2 separate regions of the Homo sapiens genome follow, and region 1 is linked to region 2. The links are contacts of gene promoters, found by promoter capture Hi-C in human tissues and cell types (Jung and others, 2019). All regions are on one chromosome and are shown on one strand. The core of a region is centred on a gene start or on the middle of the fragment in contact, and the rest is flanking DNA. Distances in the headings are between cores, read along the strand shown. Region 1 overlaps HGS (hepatocyte growth factor-regulated tyrosine kinase substrate). Region 2 holds the start of DUS1L (dihydrouridine synthase 1 like).

What was found. Contacts are between HindIII fragments. The study calls those that stand out against the background at their distance.
Region 1: a fragment that was not itself captured here is called in contact with the fragment with the promoter of DUS1L in region 2 in 1 of the 25 tissues and cell types used here (spleen).

What each region holds. Positions count from the first base shown.
Region 1 is chr17:81,687,131-81,691,732 of GRCh38, forward strand. HGS (hepatocyte growth factor-regulated tyrosine kinase substrate) reads left to right here. Exons shown (of 22, transcript NM_004712.5): 5 at 1,574-1,697; 6 at 3,052-3,104; 7 at 3,544-3,612; 8 at 4,317-4,441. Among named protein-coding and RNA genes, the nearest start is that of MIR6786, 4.3 kb to the right of the region's middle. The HindIII fragment of the contact is 5,827 bases long and covers 1-4,602 here.
Region 2 is chr17:82,063,968-82,068,251 of GRCh38, forward strand. DUS1L (dihydrouridine synthase 1 like) reads right to left here and starts at 1,837. Exons shown (of 14, transcript NM_022156.5): 1 at 1,646-1,837; 2 at 856-1,102; 3 at 159-267. The coding sequence starts at 1,092. RefSeq lists an enhancer at 477-1,205 and silencers at 1,429-1,478, 1,769-1,838, 1,849-1,908. The HindIII fragment of the contact is 11,103 bases long and covers 1-2,051 here.

The sequences.
Region 1 (4,602 bases), core at 613-3,112, 380 kb before region 2:
GCTGGCACCTTTGCTTCTCCGGGTGTTTACTGGGCACTGATGACAGAACAGCACCAGGTGTGGCGGAAAATGTGCAGGTGCAGATCGGTGGTCCCTGCACTGCGCAAGCTCGCACTCATGAGTCGGAGAGACAGGGCCGTGAGCCCCAATCCAGGGAGGTCAGGGTTTAGCAGGAGCCGGCCTGGGGTGCTGTGTCTGGAGGACCAAGGTGACAGCGACCCTGGGGCCTGGGGGAAGCTTCCGGGAGGCAGGGCTTGGGCACCTGCTGTCTTAGGGAAGGTGAGTAGATGCCACTGGGTGGGCAGGGCAGGTGGTGGCTATCGTGTGTGAGAGTGGCTGTGGTCCGGAGGGCAGGCTGGCCACATCCCACAGGCAGGGGCCTGGGAGGGCTCTGAGCGGGGGCTTGTAAGATCGGATGTGTCTGGCGGGGATAAGAGCTGTTTTGGAGAGCGAGGGCTTCATGCTTTCCTGGGCAGAGGAGGAAAAGCCCTCCAGATCCCCAGGAGATTGTGCCGGGGACATCTGCAGGGATTGTGCTGGGGACACCTGCAGGGACTGTGATGTGGACTGTGATGCAGTGGGGATGCTGTTGCAGGTGTCAAGGAGAAAGAGTGTCCCATGTAGTCAGGCTGCTCCCCTTCTGTCCCAACCTGTGGGCCAGACCTGGGTCTCATAGGAGACTCCCTGGACTCACACAGCTGAGAACCTGCCCGGGGATCCCGGTGGACAGCCAGGCCTCTCAAAGGCCCTCACTGGCCACTTTGGCTGGCTTCCTGTCCCGTCCTGTCCTGGCTGAGAGGCGGAAGGTGCCGGAGTCTGGCCCTGCCCGACCCTGGTGCTCCTGAGCTCCTTCAGTCAGGCTGCAGATCCTGAGCCGGTTCGCTCCTCTGGGGTGAGGCAGGGCTGTGAAGGGAAGGCGCCGCTGAGGATGCAGAGGGGTTCTGGAAAGGAGCTTAGGCTGAGGTGCAAGTGCCCCGGAGCCTGCTTGCAGCAGCCTCTGATCGCACGCCGTCCTGCACGTCACACCGGGACGGCGTCCCCGAGAGGGCCGTAGACGCGAGGCCAGGCTGCGCTCTAACCGGGGGAGAGGATGGCTGCAGGGGGTCTGGAGCCCGCTCTGAATTTGGAGGCATTTCTGGAGCGGCTGCCCCCCGCGTCTCCCCGGCTGTGACTGGAAGGAGGGGCGTGGCCAGAGCCCCGCAGTACCCCTGTGTTCTCAGCCCCAACACCACGCTGCCACCGTCAGGCCTGCCGGGTCCTGCCTGTTGGAGGCTGACGGGAACCGGGGATCCTGGGGTGGGCAGGTCCCGTGGGGAAAGGGAGAGACAGATGGTCAGGGGCACAGAGACGCGGCGTTGTTTGGCTCCAGCAAGTAGAGGCAGGCGTGAGGTTTGAACTCAGGGTCTGGGAACAGGTTGGTGCATGGCCCCCACGCCCCACTCGGGGGGCCCTCCCTGGCCTCTGTGTCAGCCCCATCTGCTCAGAGGCTGAGGTCTGCCAGCTGCTTCCTCACACCGAGGCCTCTGGCGCCTGGAGTGTCCTGCGACCCTCACCCCCTTCTCCCTGCCTGCAGAGACAAGTGGAGGTAAACGTCCGTAACAAGATCCTGTACCTGATCCAGGCCTGGGCGCATGCCTTCCGGAACGAGCCCAAGTACAAGGTGGTCCAGGACACCTACCAGATCATGAAGGTGGAGGGTGAGTCAGGACTGAGGTTGGGACCAGGTTGAGGCTTGGAACTGCTGGGCAGTCAGGCTCAACGGGCACAGTGGCGAGGGGCCTGGGAAGATGGGTTGTTCCCTGTGTTGGGAGGGAGGAGGGCGGTGGCCTGGAGCCAGGGAAGACCGTGCATGTGAGGGCGGGTTCAGACCGGCTCCTGCCTTTCTGGACCCACGGCCCACGGGCAGGGGCAGGCAGTGATGGCAGACAACACACAGGTGAAAAGGCAGCAGACAGCCTGTTTCAGAGTGGCAGGACTCCTGGGGGCCGGGTTGGGCTGTGCAGTCAGGGAAGGCCTCTGAAGGAGCTGTCCCAAGTGTCGAGACTGGAACAGAAGCCAGAGCCGGCGTGAGCAGGCAGGCAGCACCCGTGGGCAGACACTCAGGGTTGAGGCCCCAGGGCAGAAAGGTGGCCAGCGTGCCAGAGGAGAGTGCAGCCGGGCCTGTGCGCCGAGGGCCTCCAGGCTGTTGGGCTGGAGTTCAGGGTTGCTGTCAGCGCAGCAGGAGGCCTCTGGTGGGTTTTCGTCTAGGTCGTGGCTGCCAAGGTGTGTTTCTTAAGGGTCCCTCTCGGCCATTGTGGCCGTGGAGAACTAGGGGATTGTGTAGAGAGAGGTGGGGGCTTCAGGATGCATTTGGGAGTCTTGGCTGGTGCTCAGGGCCCACTCAGTGAGAGAGAGGTGGGCATGGCTGCTCACATCTGTGCGGGTTCTCTGTGGCCCTGAGTCTGCTGAAGACGAGGCTGAGAGCGTGGGGAATGGGGCAGGCTCCAGGGGTGGTGCGTCCCCGCTGCAGGAGTTGGACGCTTGCCCTGTGGCTGCAGGGTGGGCAGGACCAGTGTGGAGAACACGGGAAGAACGCAGGGGGCGCTGCACGAGCTGCCTTGGACCCTCAACTTTGGGGTGGTGGATGCTGGTGGTCTGTGCTCCTGTCTCCTTCCTGGGGTGGGAGCTCTCCTGGATTTTTTCTGGGGTCGTGTGTCAAGAATAGCTCAAGGTCTTGTCCTCAGGATCAGTGGGAGCCCTGGCCAGAGAGCAGAGGGTGAGGGAGCCACTCAGCAGGCGGGGCCACGCAGGGGCCTCATGCCCTGATGGAGTGGGAGCAGTGTCTCAGGAAGAGGGCAGCAGGGCCTGGCTCTTGTCTCCCGCCACAGTGAGGACAGAGGCCCCATGGGGACACCCAATCTTGGGGGCAGGAGGCTGTCTCGGTGCCCCCAGACACCTTCACTTGGGTGCACGGTCACTGCTGCGTTGCAGCTGCCGAGAGTGAGGAAGGGGCTCCCGGAAGTCTTGCAGGCCAGGTGGGAGCAGGCAGTGACTATGGCTTCATCTCTCCAGGGCACGTCTTTCCAGAATTCAAAGAGAGCGATGCCATGTTTGCTGCCGAGAGAGTGAGTGTGGGCGGCCGCCAGGGGTTCTGGAGTCGGGCTGCTCAGGAAGCGTGAAGGGGAGTGCTGGGAGCCCGGCTTGTTTGAGGGTTGGTGGCTGAGCTCTCGTCTGTCTGGGACCTGAGGATGCCTGTGTGTCCTGGGCGGAGGCGTAGCAGCTGTCTCTGCAGGGCGAGGTGGAGACGTGGCTTGAGGGCCTTTAGAGTGGCTAGGGGGCTCGGGAAAGGAAAACAAGCACCTTTGATGAGGAAGGAAGTCCCTTCCTCAGGCCTCGGCAGCTTCACCCCAGGCCACGCCGCTGGGAAGGGCCGCCCGGGGCATTGCTCTCGCTCGTGCTGGGGTCCTCTCTGGGTCCGTTGCCTTCTGTGGGGCAGGGGAGGCTCTGTGCCTCTGGGGCTGGTGGGGCGGGAAGCGTGTGGTCCTGACTGCTGCCCCTCCTCAGGCCCCAGACTGGGTGGACGCTGAGGAATGCCACCGCTGCAGGGTGCAGTTCGGGGTGATGACCCGTAAGGTGAGTTCCCACCTGGGGGGCTCTACAGCCCCGGCCAGACACCAGGTCCCCTGCCGTGCACAAGGCCACCGTCCCTGCTGGGCCTTTCCTTCCTGGTGGGTGGTTCAGGAGGTGAGTGCAGCTCGCAGCGGGTGGCAGTGTGGCGTCAGGAGGGGGACAGTGAGGGCCCACGTAAGGGCCTGATGCCACTGCCTGGGCCGGGCCCAGCCTCACTCTGGAATTATAATGTTTTAAACCTAGGGCTACAGGCCTTGCCACAGTCACTCTGCTGCTTGCCAGGGCCGTGGGGCCCCCTTCTCTTTGTGGCTTAGCCCATCTGGATTCTTACCCTCGAGGCATCTTCACATCAAAACCCCCTCCAGGCTGGCAACCGGCAGTGCTTGGGGTTTGGGGTGTCAGCAGCTTCCAGCACCCACTGCACTCACAAAAGCTCTTGTTTTATCAGCAGAATTGATGTGTATTTTTTCCTTGCCCTTACTTTTAACTTACCTTATTTTCCCCAAAACGGTGGCTGGCGTTGAGACTCCCGGGAGCATGTCCAGGTTCCCCGGCCTTAGGGTCTTCCCAGGCACTTGTTCTGCTTGTCCCTTGCCTTCCCCCACCTGTGAGGCCCAGCTTCGGCATCGTACGGGGTGGTTCTGGGCCGGGTGGCGCATCAGGGTCCCCCAGTGCCTGTGACCAGGCCCGCCCGCCCCATCTTACAGCACCACTGCCGGGCGTGTGGGCAGATATTCTGTGGAAAGTGTTCTTCCAAGTACTCCACCATCCCCAAGTTTGGCATCGAGAAGGAGGTGCGCGTGTGTGAGCCCTGCTACGAGCAGCTGAACAGGTGAGTCCCCGCCCCCCATTTGGGCTGCAGGTGGGGCAGGCTCTCCAGGCTGGGTTTTCTGTCCCTCTTGGCCATGGTGCCTGAGGCCTGCAGACCCCAGAGGACCCTCACAGCACAGCAGCTGGAAGGTCAAGGGAAACCCAGGGTGGCCGCATGCCCTC
Region 2 (4,284 bases), core at 587-3,086:
CCTCCAGAGGCGGAGCACAGAGGACAGCTGGCTCCAGCCTGAGCCACTGTCACGACAGAGGCAGGGCCTGCCGTCCTCCAAGCTCACCACACCTGGGGCTGCACTGAGCTGGCTCTGGCCCCTGCCCCAGGTGCCCCCATGCTCCACATGGAGCTCACCTCTCTTGGCTATCATCTGTGGGCAGCCCAAGTTCAGGTCAATGGCGTCACAGTAATCCTGAGCCAGGAGAGCCGCCTGAACAAACACCTCCGGGTCATTGGCACAGAACTGGAGAAGATGCAGGAGTCAGCCACGGGCCCAGCCAGGCCCTAGTCCCTTGCTGCCCAGCCCTACGAGAGGTCCAGTGTGACCCCATGAGGGTGTGGGCCCAGGTTCACTGCAGGAGGGTGCTCTGTCCTGCGGAGGCTTACAATATGACAAAGCCGGGAGGAGTCCCCAAGCCACCCGGATTTACAGATTTTCTTCTGAACTGTGGCAGAAGCCACAATCACTGACTTCTGAAGAGCAGAGCCATCTCCACTGGTTCTGAAGAGGGAGTGTGAGTGTGAGAGGCAGCAATCCAGAGGCCCCAGCAGGGCTGCAAACCTCACAGCACCCAGGCTGCCTGAGCCACTCCTAGAGAATGGGGTTGGATTCTGGCAGGTGCACCTGGCAGCCCTGGCTCCACCACAGGAATCACTGCTGTGGCTACGTGGACTCTACATGCCTGGTGCCACCTTCTCCCTCTCCTCCTGGAATTGAGCTGTCTCTGGAAAGGCTGAAAGTGATGTCCCGCCACAGAGAGAAGGGTTTTTCCCCAGGCATTCCAGGACCGGGAACCCAACCGCGGCCGCGGCCACAGCCCCTCCTGCGCACCTGCACGATGAGGGGCCGGTCCTCGGGGCACACCTCGCAGTACAGGTTCTCCTTCCGGTAGTTGGCGTCGCGGACAAAGACCTGGGCATGCAGCATGGGCGTGTAGCAGAGCTGTGCCCCGTGGCGCCGGCTCAGCAGCCTCCAGGCCAGCTCGCTCTGGTCCACCATGGGGGCCACGACGTGGCGGGCCCCTCGCAGGGTGCGGCTCCAGAACTCGAAGCCCTGCAGCTTTGGCATCGTCTCCAGGCTGGGGGAAAGGCGCAGACCCGGGGTTCAGCCAGGCCCAACGAGGGGCTTAAGACTCAACTCAGAGGCAGCGGTCACCCTTCTAAGGCCGCTCCAGTACCACCGTTGGGTCACACGCGGGGGCACTAAAGGCGGGGGTCGGTGCAGGCTGGAGAACGGCCACTCCAGTGCCGCCACCTCCTAGCGGACCTCGGGGGAGCCGCTGGACCCCTGGGACTTGACCCTCCCTGGGGAGCGGGACTCGATGTCGGCCTGGTAGGGGACTGGCGTGAAGGGGGAAGAAACCTTGACGCCAGCGTCCCCGCGGGCCTGGCCCTGAGCAGGCCGCCCGGCGGTGAAGTTAGGACCCCCGGCCCCTTCCCGGGAGAATCGGCTCCGCGCCGGGCCAGGGGAAGGGCAGAGCTTCCTTCTCCGCACCCGGCCAGGCGGCCCGGCTGGCCCGAAACGCCACAGGGGCGCCCCTCGCGAGACTCCTCCGGAGCCACGCGGCGGGCAGCGTTTGCTGTGTGAAGTGACAGGAGCCCACACGCCTCCGCGTCCTCACCGCGCGAGGGCCCCGCCGTGTCCGCCGCGCGCCTTTGGCTCCGAGGGCGCCGGGTGCCGGTGTCCCGGGCCCGCCCCTCTCCGGCCTCGCCGCCGCCCGGGGCCCCTGCAGCTCCCGGGGCGCCGCGAACGCCCGCACCGCGCCGGGGCCGCCGCCGGGCCGCAGCCGGGCCCAAGGCTCCGCGCCGCCACCGGAAGGTGCCCGGTCCTGCGCGGTCCGGGCGGCCCACGGTGCGGCGGGAAACGCGTTCCCCGGAAACCGCGCCCGGCTCCGAGGGGACCGGCGACGAGAGGTCGCGGCGCGGGGTCGGAGGTCAGAGGCTGAGGTCACCACCGTACCCGTCAGGCCGTGGCTAGAGAGGGGTCGGGGCTCGCCGGGACTCACCGACAGCTCGCTGGAAACGAGGCATGTGGAAATTGGGCCTCGCTGAGGCGCACATAAGGCCCGGGCCGCGGGTAGACCGTGGGCGCTGAGGCCCTGCGCTGCCCAGCCCCCAAGTTCGCATTGGGGGCTTCATCCCGTTATATCCTAAAGCGGCCCCAGAGCCCTGCCTCGAACCCACTCACCTGCCGCCTCTGAAAGCCACTCACTTTCCGCCGCTGCGTTGCGGAAAATCACCCTCCAGGGACCTTCCTTGCCCGCCCTGGGTTTCCGCAGCCGCCAGCCTTCGATCGACTTTCCTACCCGCCGTGGACCCTCCTTGGGTTATTTCGAGCTGTGGGGACCCACTGGGAACCCCAGAGTGGATGTGAAGGTTATTTTAAACTGAAGGCATTTGAGACCCAACAGATGTAAAAAGCAGCTTTGTCAGAGCTTTCCATATCTGAGAGCGAAGCCCGAAGTTGAACCAGGACATTCAGTACCTAAAACATGTGAAATCTCTTGGGCCCCCGGAATCACTAAGGAAAACTCAGGCTGGAAGCTGCTCAGGGCAAACCTGCCTCCCGCTCTATTCAGAGTCACCCTCTGCTCGCTGAGATAGATGGATATCTGACTGACTCCTTTGAAAAGGCTCATCAGAAGGCTGGGCGCGGTGGCGCACATTGAGACCAGGAGTTCGAGACCAGCCTGGCCAACACGGTGAAACCCTGTCTCTACTGAAAATACAAAATTAGCCAGGTGTGGTGGTGCGCCCCTGTAGTCCCAGCTACTCGGGAGGCTGAGGCAGGAGAATCGCTTGAACCTGGGAGGCGGAGGTTGCAGTGAGCCGAGATCAAGCCATTGTACTCCAGCCTGGCGACAGAGCAAGACTGATCAAAAAGGAAAAGAAAAAAAAAAAAGGCTAATCAGAAACTCAAAACAATGTAACCGTTTGTGTATCACCTATCTGTGACCAGGAAGCTCCCTCCCCGATGGCTTTTGCTTTAAATTGTCCCGCCTTTCCAGACTGAACCAATTTTTTTTTTTGAGACGGAGTCGCTTTCTGACCCAGGCTGGAGTGCGGTGGCGTGATCTCGGCTCACTGCAACCTCCATCTCCCAGGTTCAAGCGATTCTCCTCCCTCAGCTTCCCAAATAACTGGGATTACAGGCACCCACCAACACACCCAGCTAATTTTAGTATTTTTAGTAGAGATGGGGGTTTCACCATGTTGGCCAGGCTGGTCTCGAACTCCTGACATCAGGTGATCCGCTGGCCTCCCAAAGTGCTGGGATTACAGGCGTGAGCCACCGCAGCTAGCCGCTATGTTCATCTTACATATATTGATTGATGTCTCATGTCTCCCTAAAATGTATAAAACCAAGCTGTGCCCCAACCACCTCAGGCACATGTTGTCAGGACCTCCTGAGGCTGTGCCATGGGCATGTCCTCAACCTTGGCAAAATAAACCTTCTAAATTAACTGAGACCTGTCTCAGATTTTCTGCATTCACAGATAGAACAGCCTTGGTGGTCTTCAGAGGTGGCCAGATGTCCCTGGTGGACTGCAAGGTTGGGTGCACACTAAGGAAAGACAGGCGAGGGCCCCAGCTGTCCACCGCCCTGGCTGAACGTGAGGCTTTGTACAAGCAAAAAGTAAAAGCCAAGTCCAAATTGTAAAAACTACCTGAATTCCAAATGCAGCCACAACCCACACACAGCGCCATCAGCAGAGGCTGGAGGCCCTACTGGTTCAGAATATTTAAGCACAGTATCGAACCAGTAATTGTAAAAGGTAAAAGATTTTTTTTTTAAGACAGAGTCTCGCTCTGTCACCCAGGCTGGAGGGCGGTGGCACGATCTCTGCTCACTGCAAGCTCCACCTCCCAGGTTCAAGCGATTCTCCTGCCTCAGCCTCCCGAGTAGCTGGGACTACAGGTGCCCGCCACCACACCCGGCTAATTTTTTGTATTTTTAGTAGAGATGGGGTTTCACCATTAGCCAGGATGGTTTCGATCTCCTGACCTCATGATCTGCCCATCTCGACCTCCTAAAATGCTGGGATTACAGGCATGAGCCACCACGCCCAGCCCAGATCATATGAATCTTTTGCCTTTTAGCCGGGCGCGGCGGCTCATGCCTGTAATCTCAGCACTTTGGGAGGCCGAGACGGGCGGATCATGAGGTCAGGAGATCGGGACCATCCTGGCTAACATGGTGAAACCCCGTCTCCACTAAAAATACGAAAAAAATTAGCCGGGCATGGTGGCGGGCGCCTAT